4 separate regions of the Homo sapiens genome follow, and all the other regions are linked to region 4. Evidence: promoter capture Hi-C in 16 types of primary human blood cells and fetal thymus (Javierre and others, 2016). All regions are on one chromosome and are shown on one strand. The core of a region is centred on a gene start or on the middle of the fragment in contact, and the rest is flanking DNA. Distances in the headings are between cores, read along the strand shown. Region 1 holds the start of UBAC1 (UBA domain containing 1). Region 2 holds the start of EXD3 (exonuclease 3'-5' domain containing 3). Region 3 holds the start of TMEM203 (transmembrane protein 203). Region 4 holds the start of NOTCH1 (notch receptor 1).

Region 1 (2,700 bases), core at 180-2,679, 580 kb before region 4:
TTGCCAAGCTTGCCTCTGACAGTTCCAGAACTCCACAGAACCATGCTCACAAAAGCAACTCGAAAGTACTGTATGCGAGCAGCTACTATGGTAAGAACTGAAGTTTATCCTTAGAGACCACACTCAGCTCAAGTGTAACGCACTCAACCTGTCAACACAGATACGTCGTAACTTATCACATGGAGTCGCCACTAGAAAATTGCAGCCTCCTTCAACCTAAATTCTGCCAAGCCCTCAGATCATGTCAGGTATAGACAGGAGGTCAGTCTGACACACAGACAGGCTTCTTAGCTGACCTTACTGAGTCCTTTAGAGACTCGAGAACTAGTTCCAAAAATCAGCAACCTAAGGAACTAAATACACAGGAGTATTTCAGGTGAATAAACTTTAAAAAGTGTCTCCGCGAGGAGACCCTACTCCTGGGACTTCTCTCTTGACCAATTTTACCTCTGCAGAAAAGCAGGGGCGCAGGGCCTTGTCCCGCAGCGGCACTATTTCAGGGACTCCAGCTAAAAGGCACAGTGGCCTGGGGCCAGCCAGGAAAAGAGCTCCAAGCAGCCGGCTCTGCGGGAAAGGGGAAGAGGAAGGAGAAGGGGCCTCTTCATGAAGGAGCCTACGTTAATTCTCAGCTCTCAAAGATGCTGCTGAAAAAAAACCTCACCCCAACAGCAAAAAGGTACAACTGCCGGAAAGTCCCGAGGCCCTGCTCCGTCGGCGACTTCACTCTCCAGGCCTCAGTTTCCCGATCTGCCCCTACCTCCCTGCGTGGCTGCAGAGTTAACTGAGAGGCTGGCGTGTACAGGGCTCGGCCGGGCGGCTGGCACGGGGCGAGCGCTTAGTGACCGGAGTCCGCCGGCCGAAAGGCCAGGCCCGGGACGAGCGTCCAGAGGTGTGGGATCCGAAAGGGGGAGAGTCGGGCAAACGGGCAGGAGGCGCTGCCTCCACCCCCGGAGGAGAGGGCCTGGGAGCTGCGGACTGGGCGGCGGACCCCAGGTCGGGGCGGTTCGGGGACTGAGGCGGGGTCCGCAGTCGGAGGGGTCCGGAGCGGGTGTTGGGGGCAGGGGAGGGGGCCCGGCCTTACGTGCTTGAGGCAGCGCTCCTTGAGCTTCTCCACCGAGGTGTCCTCGGTGGCCTCCTCCAGCCACTCGGCGCCGTCGGACGCGCAGATGTGCAGCCGCAGCACCTTGCCCGCGAAGATCTTCTCCTCCTGCACGAACATCCCGCCGCCGCCGCAGGGGCCTGCGCCCGCCACCCGGGCCCCTGAAGGTCACCGGGAAGGCGGGCGGGGAGGGGGCGGGGCCAGACCGCCCGCGCGCTCCTTCGCTGGGCCGCCGCCCCGCCCCGGCTCCCGTCGGCCGGGCCGCCGTCACTCTCCGCGGCCTCAGCGGTCGCCTCGCTCCCGCCGCCGCAGCAGCCGCCGGGGGCGCGCCGTCGCGGCCGCACCGGAAGTGCGTCACGGGCGCGTCTGGCGCATGCCGGGAGATGTGGTTCTCGGACAGGCGCCTCGCTCCCGCCGCCGGGGGCGCGCTGTGGCCACCGCAAAGGAAGTGCGTCACGGGGCGCGCCCGGAGCATGCCGGGAGCTGTAGTTCTCTGGTAGCTTCGTTCCTCCCCGAGCTGCAGGCGGTTCCCACCCGGGGCACTCACCACGTGGGACCTCATGGGTTCTAAAGGTAAAATACACGCTGGATCCCAAAGAAGTAACGGGAAAAAGGAATGTAAGGCATCTCGATAATGTTTTCATATTGATTACATGTTGAAATAATATTTTGTATCTATTGAGTTAAGAAAAATATGTCATTAAAATTAATTTCACCTGTTTCTTTTAACCTTTTTAAGATAGAATTTTAAATTGCCTACATGGCTGCTGTGATATTTCTTTTGCACTGCACTGCTGTAGAACGGAGGCTCTCCAAAGAACTTGGCTTTAACAAGCCTAGGTCTTTCTAATTCACACGCAGATCAGAGAGTCACTGTTCCTGCGAAGCCTAGGTTTGCGGGGCACCCAGAGGGGAGGGAAGCCGCCCTTGGTGCAGGTGATGCCAGGCAGACTCATTTTCTGTGGGGTGTGACAAAGAGTCTTTGCTTGGCCAAACTTAAGCAGGCTCCTGAACCTTCTACATCATCTGTACACTTCCTTGTAAAATCCAGTTTTAGCGAAGAGCCTTGATAAGTGAGTTTAGCAAGAACTCCCAGCCTCAATATCAGATCACCCTGGACGTCTGGTCAGGTTCCTCGTCCCCCAGGTGCTGTCTGATATCTCCAGCCTCTCTTCAGCAAGAACCCTGTCAGGTCGGTTTAGCCAGAACCGCCCACATCCCTGATGTTTTCTCCTATTAATTTTCCATTCACTGACCCCACCCACTTGCCCTTGCTGTATTGGGAGTTGAGCCTGACCTCTCTCCCCACTGCAAGCCCCCTTGGCAGTGGTCTCTGTACCTAGCTCAACAGTCCTGGATAACGTCTTACTTACCATGCTCCTAAATATGAATTTTGTAGTTCAGGTTAGACCTGACACATTGACTGATCTGTACTCATTCATCCCATTCATTTAAAAAAACTTTACTGCGCAGAGATGAATAAGGCACAGTTCCCGTTCTCAGAGGTTAGCAATCTAACCGGGGAGGCTGTCTCTGCCTCCTGCCTGCAGGCTTTTATTCTGTCCACACCATTTTGCACACACATCCTCATTTTTCTCCTG
Region 2 (2,700 bases), core at 38-2,537, 880 kb after region 4:
ATTTTAGTTTCTTCATGTTTTTAGTTGTCTCCCTAATGGAACAGGTTTGTTTTTTTCATCCTGGCATACAAATTGGTTATAGTCCTATGTGTTACTTCTGAGAAAATTAAAATTAATGGTGTTTCTAAAAACTAGAGATGATTCAACAGGTGACAGCAGTTGTATAAATTAATGACTTCACTGAGACCTCATGTTTGCCACCCTGTAATGCCATTCCAATTCAGTTTGTGGTGTTCTTAAAAAAAAAAAAAAAAAAAAAACTCCCTGAAATGTCTCCTCCTTCCCTGCTTGGCATGGGACAGGACTATGTGGGAATGAGCCTTCCCAGCAAGAGGGGACACTCTGACCCTCAGATTTTGATAATCAATGCTTTCAAGAAGAAAGATTTTGATCAAAAGGGGGGCAAATGAGAAAGAAAAAAATCATTTATCTGAGGAATGTAAAGCCCTTTTAAACTGTGGGCCCAGAAAGCTTGATGTTAAGTGCCAGAAAGCATTTCAAATGAAACCGCAGCCCCTCACTACCCCTCGAGCCAAGTAACTATCCACTGATGACACCAAGCCGTGGTCAATCGCGAACCAATGCCATTTCTACAAGCCAGTGAGCTCCTGGGCAACGTTCGAAACCACCTGCTCTCCGATGGGCTCTGTTTTCTTTAAAAACCTGAGCCTCTGTTTTGTTCTCCGTTGCACCTGGTGACCCAGGCCGCCCTCGACCTCTGTGCCTGAATAAACCCACCGGGCACCACATTCTGACCCTTTTAATTATTTTAGGTTGACAACTAATACAGGACTCAGCGCCGGTGGACAGGAAGCCAGGGCCCCTGCAGGGAGGCGCCCGTCCCTTCTCCCGGGGAGGGCAGGGCGGGCGCGCGCGCGTCCCACCGGGAGCGCCTCCTCCTCGGCGAGGGAGCGAAGGGCCTCCGGGTCCTGTGATGTCCGTGCTCGGAAGGCGCGGAGGAGGGCAGGCCCTGCGGGACAGGGCGGCGGGGTCGCCGGGGTCGGCTCAGCTCCCCGCGGCGTCCGGCTGCTCGGCGGCCTCCGGAGCGGGGCCCTGCGGGAGAACGCACCTTCCCCGCCCCATCGGGGCCTCAGTTTCCCCACCCCGGGAGAGCCGGCGGCCCGCCCCCGGCTCACTCCCAGCTACGGCCCTCACCTCAGGACGCGCACCCGGCCCGGCCCCGCTCTGCCCCCGGCGCCCAGACCGCCCACCTGGCCCGCGCGGCCCGGGGTCGCTCACCTGCGGGGCCGGGACCGCCCCACACCGTCCACGCCCGGCGCGGAACCTTGGCCCGACCGCAGCCGCTGGCCCGGAGGGCTTTATCCGGCGCACCAAGGCCAGCGCGGGCGGGGCGAGGAAGCCGGGCGCACAAAGCTCCCGGCGGAAGTCCGGCCGGGGCGGGGGCCGAATGGGAGGTGGGCGAGGCCTGAGGGTCTGGAGTGGGCGTAGCCGTTTCTGGCGGGGGCGTGGCCTTACCGGGGAGGGGCGGGCGCCTGCCGCCAGGGGGCGCCGCGGGGCAGCGGGGTTGCACCTGGCGCTTGGCGCCCGCACCTCTGCCCGCCTCGGAGACCCCGCAGCCCCGCGCCGCCGCCTGGCCCCGGCCCCGGCCCCTCCGCGGGATCCTGGCCCCTCCTCGAGCGCCGCCACCGGCCGCCATGGCCTCTCTGGGGGACCTGGTGCGCGCCTGGCACCTGGGCGCGCAGGCTGTGGATCGTGGGGACTGGGCCCGCGCCTTGCACCTCTTCTCGGGCGTCCCGGCGCCGCCCGCCAGGCTGTGCTTCAACGCGGGCTGCGTGCACCTGCTGGCCGGGGACCCCGAGGCCGCGCTGCGGGTGAGCGGGGCGTGGGGAGGCCGGTGCGGGCGACGCCTCCGCCTCGAGCCCCTGGGGAGGGCCCAGCGCCCCTCCCCGACCGTCACGGGGTCGCCCTGCCGCCCCCGACCCAGCGAACGCCCCGGCAGGTGGGAGCCGAGCAGGGGGGCCGCACCTGAGCTAAGCGAGGCCGCGCTGGGGGGCGCGGCGGTCACCGGGAGAGGCCGGGGCCCGAGGGTGACTCACACCGGGAAGGGGGAAGCTGCTGGGCTGGGTCAGGCCCGAGGGACCGCCCTGCCCTAAGGGGAAAGCGTTGCGCCTGTGGTCATGGCCGGGAGACCGGGTCAGTCTCCTCCTCAGAGCCCTCAGCCCTCCCCCAGCCCACTCCCCGAAACAGCCAGGAGTCCAGGGTGCCAGGGTGCAGCGGCCGAGGCCCTGCACGGAGCCCGGTGCCCTTCTCGTGCCCCCTCGCGTTCCGGGGCCGCCTGTTCCTGCGCATCCCAAACGCCAGCGCTGCCCACCCCCGCTCAGTCCCAAGCACCCCGCAGAAGCAGGCAGGTGCCCACGGTTACTGAAGGCTCGGTGACAGCAGTGATTTAAAGGAGAGGGAACTGCGCGCTGTGGGAGGGTCTCCACGCCCCTGACTGGCAAAATATCCCCCTTGGAGGAGACTGGGCAAAGCGCATGAGACCCCCCTCTCTTGTGTCTTAAAGCTGCGTACAAATTTACAATCACCTCCATAATGATTTCATTTTTTTGTTTGTTTCAAAGATGGAGTCTCGTTCTGTCACCCAGGCTGAATGGAGTGCCGTGGCCCAATCTTGGCTCACTGCAACCTCTGCCTCCCGGGTTCAAGCAATTCTCCTGCCTCAGCCTCCCTAGTTGCTGG
Region 3 (2,700 bases), core at 86-2,585, 660 kb after region 4:
AGTCCACAAAACTGCAGTCTTTGCTGGGATAGTAAGCCAAGCAGTGCCTGGACAGCAGAGTTCTTTTCTTGGGCAACAGATAACCAGACAGGACTCTAATCGTGCTCTTATTCAACATTCTTCTGTCTCTGCCTAGACTGGAATAAAAAGCCAATCTCTCTCGTGGCACAGGGAAGGAGATACAAGCTCGTTTACATGTGATAGATCTAACAAAGGCATCTACCGAAGTCTGGTCTGGATAGACGGCACAGGGAGCTCTTAGGTCAGCGCTGCTGGTTGGAGGACATTCCTGAGTCCAGCTTTGCAGCCTTTGTGCAACAGTACTTTCCCAGGATCCACAGGAAATACTCAGAGTCCACCTGGACATTTTACTTATATTCAGTTTCCAAGTGTCAGAGGGGTTCAGGACTGTCTGGCCTGGGGGGCCTCCTCATGACCTCAATTCAGGATTATCTACTCAAAGCATTAAACAAAAGGAAATACATTTTCAGGATGAAGGCTGCTCTTTTAAGCCCTGCTGAAGAAACCATTTCAAACAGGATTGGAATAGGGAAACCCGGCACTCAGCTCGGCGCAAGCCGGCGGTGCCTTCAGACTAGAGAGCCTCTCCTCCGGTGCGCTGCAAGTAGGGCCTCGGCTCGAGGTCAACATTCTAGTTGTCCAGCGCTCCCTCTCCGGCACCTCGGTGAGGCTAGTTGACCCGACAGGCGCGGATCATGAGCAGCTGCAGGAGAATGAAGAGCGGGGACGTAATGAGGCCGAACCAGAGCTCCCGAGTCTGCTCCGCCAGCTTCTGGCACAACAGCATCTCGAAGACGAACTTGAGACTCAGGACCGTAAGTACCCAGAAAAGGCGGAGCACCGCCAGCCGCTTCTCTCCATCCTGGAAGAGGCGCACGGACACGATGGTGGTGAAGTAGGTGCTGAGCCCGTCAGCGGCGAAGAAAGGCACGAACACGTTCCACCAGGAGAGGCCCGGGACCAGGCCATCCACACGCAGTGCCAGCAGCACAGAGAACACCAACAGGGCCAGCAGGTGCACGAAGATCTCGAAGGTGGCGAAGCCTAGCCACTGCACCAGCTCCCGGAGCGAGAAGAGCATCGCGCCCGTTGAGCGCGGGCCGGGGCCCGGCCGAGCGTGCCACCCGCGGGGCTGCGTCTCCTCTCCCCGTGGCCCTCGCCCGCGCCTGCCGCCGCTGCTGCGAGCGAGAGGCAGCGAGCGGCCCCGCCAGCCCCAGCCCTCGGCCCTGATGCGCCGGCAATCCCCCGGCCCCGACCCGGGACTCAACCCTGGCCGCCCGTGAACGCCCGCCTCGATCGGACGCCATGCCCCCACAGGGCGCGTCCCTAGTGCGTCACTTCCGGTCGACGGCGGAAGGCGGAAGGCGGAGCGGTCCCTGCAACCCGGCCGGCGGGAACTGCCTTCTAGTTTTTAGTCTCAGACCAGACCACCGGGCGCACCCCGATGCCGAGCCCGCAGCTTCTGGTGCTCTTCGGCAGCCAGACAGGCACGGCTCAGGATGTGTCGGAGAGACTGGGTCGCGAGGCCCGGCGCCGGCGGCTTGGCTGCCGGGTGCAGGCCCTGGACTCCTACCCGGTGGTGAGGGCTCGCTAGGGCCTCGGCGTGGGGGACGAGCAGGCCTGGCGTGCCCGCCTCGCGGGGTCATCGACCCAAAAGGCGTCGCATTTTCTCTGAGAGCGGGTCTTTCCCTTATGGCGGATTTAGGGAAGGAGGTTTGGGAAGGGGAGTTCAGTTTAGCACCTGGAGGAGGTTGGAACCTGAAAGAGAAGACGGTCTGGCTGCTCACATAAATCCCTCTGCCCTGTCAGCCTGAGTAAAGGAGAAGGGGGTCAAGTTTTGGGAAGGACGCCCGGTCCTTACAGCCGGAGGTCTTACGTGTGTGTGTCTTTTTGTTGAGGTGAATCTGATTAACGAGCCCCTGGTGATATTTGTTTGTGCAACTACAGGCCAAGGAGACCCCCCTGACAACATGAAGGTAAGGCTGGCCTGATGTGGCTCCTCAGATCCCTGCCCTCGACCCTCACCCCGTTTTCATTGCCTGGCGTCTAGGTGCAGTAAATAGCTCTCCTTTATCTCATGCACCTTCAGAGGTGGATTTGAGAGAACGTCCGTGAGTGGGGCTGGGGGCTCCGGTTGCCCTCTCTAATAAACTCGTCGTAGCCACCAAATAGCCTTATTATCCGTTTTAACCTTTCTTATTTTTCCAGGGCTATCTATATGTGCATCTAGTCTGGGTCTTGTGTGTATTTCTAGACTGTATGACCCTCAGGGAACGTTGCTGAATTCTCTGACCATCTTTTAAGCACATATTCTATTCTTGGCACAGTCTGGTGCTGGGGATCCAGCTGTGAACCCAGCAGCCATATTTCCATCCTGGCAGAGTTCACACTGTAGCAGAAGCAGCTAACGGGCAATGACAGTGCCAGCAAACACCTGCTGCTGGGGAAAGTAGCATATGTCACAGGAGCACTGATAAGGGGCATCGAGCCTTATCTCACCCAACCTTGGGGCCCAGGCAGAGGTTTCTGGAAGAAAAGAGTGTAAGCTGAGTCACGGAAGGATGCGTGAGGGCTAGTCAGGCACCGAGGAAGAAGGAGCAGTCAGCGCAGAGGAAAAAGATGATTTGGTTTGTGTGAAAAGTGGAAAGCAGCTCAGGGTGGCCAAGCTGAGGAGTACAC
Region 4 (2,700 bases), core at 108-2,607:
CCGCCTCCAGGGGCACCGGGACAGCACCCTGGGGACGCGGCCCCGCCTCCGCCGACACCCAATACCTGCCTCCGCGGGCGCGCATCTCCAGGGCAGCCCCCATACACCCACAGGAGGGGGATGAAGGTCCCCCATTCGGAAGGAATTCGACCCCATCTCGAGAAGGGATCAATTACTCAAGCCCCTCCCTCCCCATCTTACCGGGGCTGAGAAACGGGGGAGGGGGGTGTGACACAGAGCCGCACTTTCTGGAAGAGGACAGATAATTCTCGCCTCCAACTCTCGGAGAAAGAGTGGATTAATCACTCGATTCCCCAGAGACCCCGCTCGCTGTGCGGCGGGGAGAAATGTAAGAGCCCCCCACCCGCGTCCCGCTCTCCGCCCCCAAGCTTTCCAAACTTCAACTCCGCAAAGCAAAAGGAAAGTTCAGTCCCCCCGGGCGCGGCGGCTTCTTACGCAACCCCTCCCCCAAACTGAGAGCCGGGCTGGGGGGCACCGGCGGGCGGGGCGACCGGGAGCCCGGGGACCCAGCCCGGCCGCGCGGGTCAGTGAAGGCGAACGCGGCGCCGCAGAGCCCACACTCCGCGCCCCAACATCCGCCCCGGCGTGGGCCAGAGGCGAAGAAGAAAGAAGATAAATGGCCCGGAGAAGCAACAGGAAACCAAAACCGACTCTATTCAAATCGAAAAATAGTAGGCAGCCCGCCCGCCCGGCCGACCGGCGGCAAGCCCCACGCGCGGCGGGTGAAGGGCGGGCCCGGAGTAGGGCCTCCGGGGCCCCAGCACCCCACACCGGCCTCCTAACTCGGCTCCAGGCACGGGCGGCGCGAGTCCGCCTCCACGGGGGGATCGAGGGGGAAGGTCGGTCCTCCCTGATCCCGGGACTCCAGAACCCCACGCCCCGGGCCGCCCGCTTTTCCCTCTCCATGCTGGCCTCCCCGCCGCCCGCTCCCAGCCGTGGGGCGCGCGCGCCGGGCGCCGCCAAAGTTTCCAAAGGGCGCGGAAAGTGGGGGCTCGCGGGTGGGTGGGCGCCTACCTCGTGCGGCGAGCGCGGGCAGCAGCGCCAGGCAGAGCAGGGGCGCCAGGAGCGGCGGCATGCCTCCCCACCGGCTGCCCTCTGCGCCCGGGCGGCGGCCTCCTGCGCTGGCCGGCGGGGCTGGGACGCACACGCGCGGCGTACGGTCCCGGGGCGGCGGCGGACGGTCCCGCCCTCTCTTCCCCGGCTGGCTGGCGGCGCTGTGCTCTCGCAGGCCCCCGGGCCCGGCTCCGCGCCCGGCTCGTTCCTTCGCTGCGCTCGCGCCCGCGCCCGCGCCCCGCGCCCCGCGCCCTTGCGCTCCCTCCCGCGGCCGAGGCACTAGTGAGGCTCAGAGTCGAGGTGCGCTCCGCCCCCGCCGGCCCCGCCCCGCCCGGCCCCACCCCCGCCGGTCCCCCCGCCCCCTCCGCGGCCACCTCCTCCCGCACGCCCCGTCCGCCTTTGCGCCTCCCCGAGCTGAGCCGCGCGTCCCGAGCCCAGCCTCTCCGGGGAGGAGGGACCCGGCGGCGCGGCGTGGGTCGGGAGCGGGCGCCTGGGACTACTTCTCGTTTGAAAGTTTTCAGAGGCCAAAAGTTTGAGCCGGGGCTGCGGAAGGATCCGGCTCTGGCGGTTGCCGCGCTCGGCGACAACTGGCGACTGAAATTTGCATGTGAATAAGCGGAGGAGCCCGGGGCGGAATGGGGAGGGCGAGGCCGCGGACAGCCGTGTGCACCGTGCGCTGGGCCGGGCGGGGAGCAGCTGAGGCCACGTTGGGGGACCCCGGGCCCGGGGCAGGGCTCTGGGAGAGTGGCCTAGCCGTGTGTGCGCCCCTAGCCCAGCGGCTTCACTCCCTCCCGAGGGCCCCGTGGCCGCGGCTTTAGGCGTCCAGAGGATCGATCGCCGCCAGACATCCCTGGCCGTGATTGCCCGAGCACTTGACCGCGAGGGATGGGGGCGCCGCGGCCTCTGGGCAGGGGACTCCGGGCGCCCCGAGGGAGCAGCCGGGACCAGTGCCTCGCGGACGGATTGTGCCCCGCTCCCCCAAGGGGGACCCGCGTCGACACGCTCCTCGGTCACCGTCCTCCTCCTGCCCGGGCGCCGCCTGCCTAAGGTGGCCCCAGAAAGCACAAACGGGTCGGGCGGATCTGCCGCTGGCGCCGGCGCAGCCCTTCCCACGTGCTCCTTCCGGCTGATTTATTTCTCCACCACGATGCCAGGCACGGGCACCCTGTGCCAAGCCTGGTTAAGCGCCAGGAGTCCAAAATGCCTGCCATAGTCCCTGCGCAAAGTTCACGGCCTCGTGCCAGGGACAGACAGCGCCCCCTCCCCACCCCAACACAGGGTGGTGAGTGCGATGGCAGAAGGCGCGTGTCCCGGCGCCCCTCCTGGAGTAGGAGGGCTAAGCCTGCCCTGCGGGGAGACCGAAAGGCTGGGAGGGACCTAGGACTGTGGGGGCCTGGGGGGAGGGCTGCAGAAACCCCAGAGCATGGTGGCAGAGGCAGGCACAGAAAGCAGGACAAATCTCACACCTGACCCCAGCAAGCCTTTCCTGGCACACCTCTTGCCAAATGCTGAGCACTCTGGAAACAGCCAGTGCAGGCGGCCTGTCCCGCCCCTGTAGCTGCTGCTGGGAGCCTCCCTCGCCTGCGTCCTCCCAGAATCTGGCCTCACTTCTGCAGGCCTGGGGTA

The links. The method cuts DNA at HindIII sites, captures the fragments that hold promoters and counts their contacts. A CHiCAGO score of 5 or more calls a contact.
Region 1: the fragment with the promoter of UBAC1 here is called in contact with the fragment with the promoter of NOTCH1 in region 4 in 1 of 17 cell types (naive B cells); the score reaches 5.2 in naive B cells.
Region 2: the fragment with the promoter of EXD3 here is called in contact with the fragment with the promoter of NOTCH1 in region 4 in 4 of 17 cell types (naive CD8 T cells, non-activated CD4 T cells, total CD4 T cells and 1 more); the score reaches 9.2 in naive CD8 T cells.
Region 3: the fragment with the promoter of TMEM203 here is called in contact with the fragment with the promoter of NOTCH1 in region 4 in 1 of 17 cell types (activated CD4 T cells); the score reaches 5.3 in activated CD4 T cells.

What each region holds. Positions count from the first base shown.
Region 1 is chr9:135,959,944-135,962,643 of GRCh38, forward strand. UBAC1 (UBA domain containing 1) reads right to left here and starts at 1,430. Exons shown (of 10, transcript NM_016172.3): 1 at 1,082-1,430. The coding sequence starts at 1,219. RefSeq lists silencers at 1,040-1,159, 1,170-1,579 and an enhancer at 1,050-1,550. The HindIII fragment of the contact is 10,703 bases long and covers 7-2,700 here.
Region 2 is chr9:137,421,875-137,424,574 of GRCh38, forward strand. It overlaps EXD3 (exonuclease 3'-5' domain containing 3), which reads right to left and starts at 1,288. Exons shown (of 22, transcript NM_017820.5): 1 at 1,240-1,288. It overlaps NOXA1 (NADPH oxidase activator 1), which reads left to right and starts at 1,519. Exons shown (of 14, transcript NM_001256067.2): 1 at 1,519-1,832. The coding sequence starts at 1,656. RefSeq lists silencers at 880-1,019, 1,030-1,169, 1,190-1,749. The HindIII fragment of the contact is 6,751 bases long and covers 470-2,700 here.
Region 3 is chr9:137,204,313-137,207,012 of GRCh38, forward strand. TMEM203 (transmembrane protein 203) reads right to left here and starts at 1,336. Exons shown (of 1, transcript NM_053045.2): 1 at 1-1,336. The coding sequence starts at 1,102. The coding sequence ends at 692. It overlaps NDOR1 (NADPH dependent diflavin oxidoreductase 1), which reads left to right and starts at 1,388. Exons shown (of 14, transcript NM_014434.4): 1 at 1,388-1,600; 2 at 1,920-1,997. The coding sequence starts at 1,466. RefSeq lists a silencer at 1,092-1,351. The HindIII fragment of the contact is 6,239 bases long and covers 1-2,700 here.
Region 4 is chr9:136,544,691-136,547,390 of GRCh38, forward strand. It overlaps NOTCH1 (notch receptor 1), which reads right to left and starts at 1,358. Exons shown (of 34, transcript NM_017617.5): 1 at 1,036-1,358. The coding sequence starts at 1,096. It overlaps MIR4674 (microRNA 4674), which reads right to left and starts at 1,569; the gene lies at 1,483-1,569. RefSeq lists enhancers at 193-242, 2,215-2,700 and silencers at 473-522, 743-1,002, 1,023-1,582, 1,923-2,022. The HindIII fragment of the contact is 3,030 bases long and covers 388-2,700 here.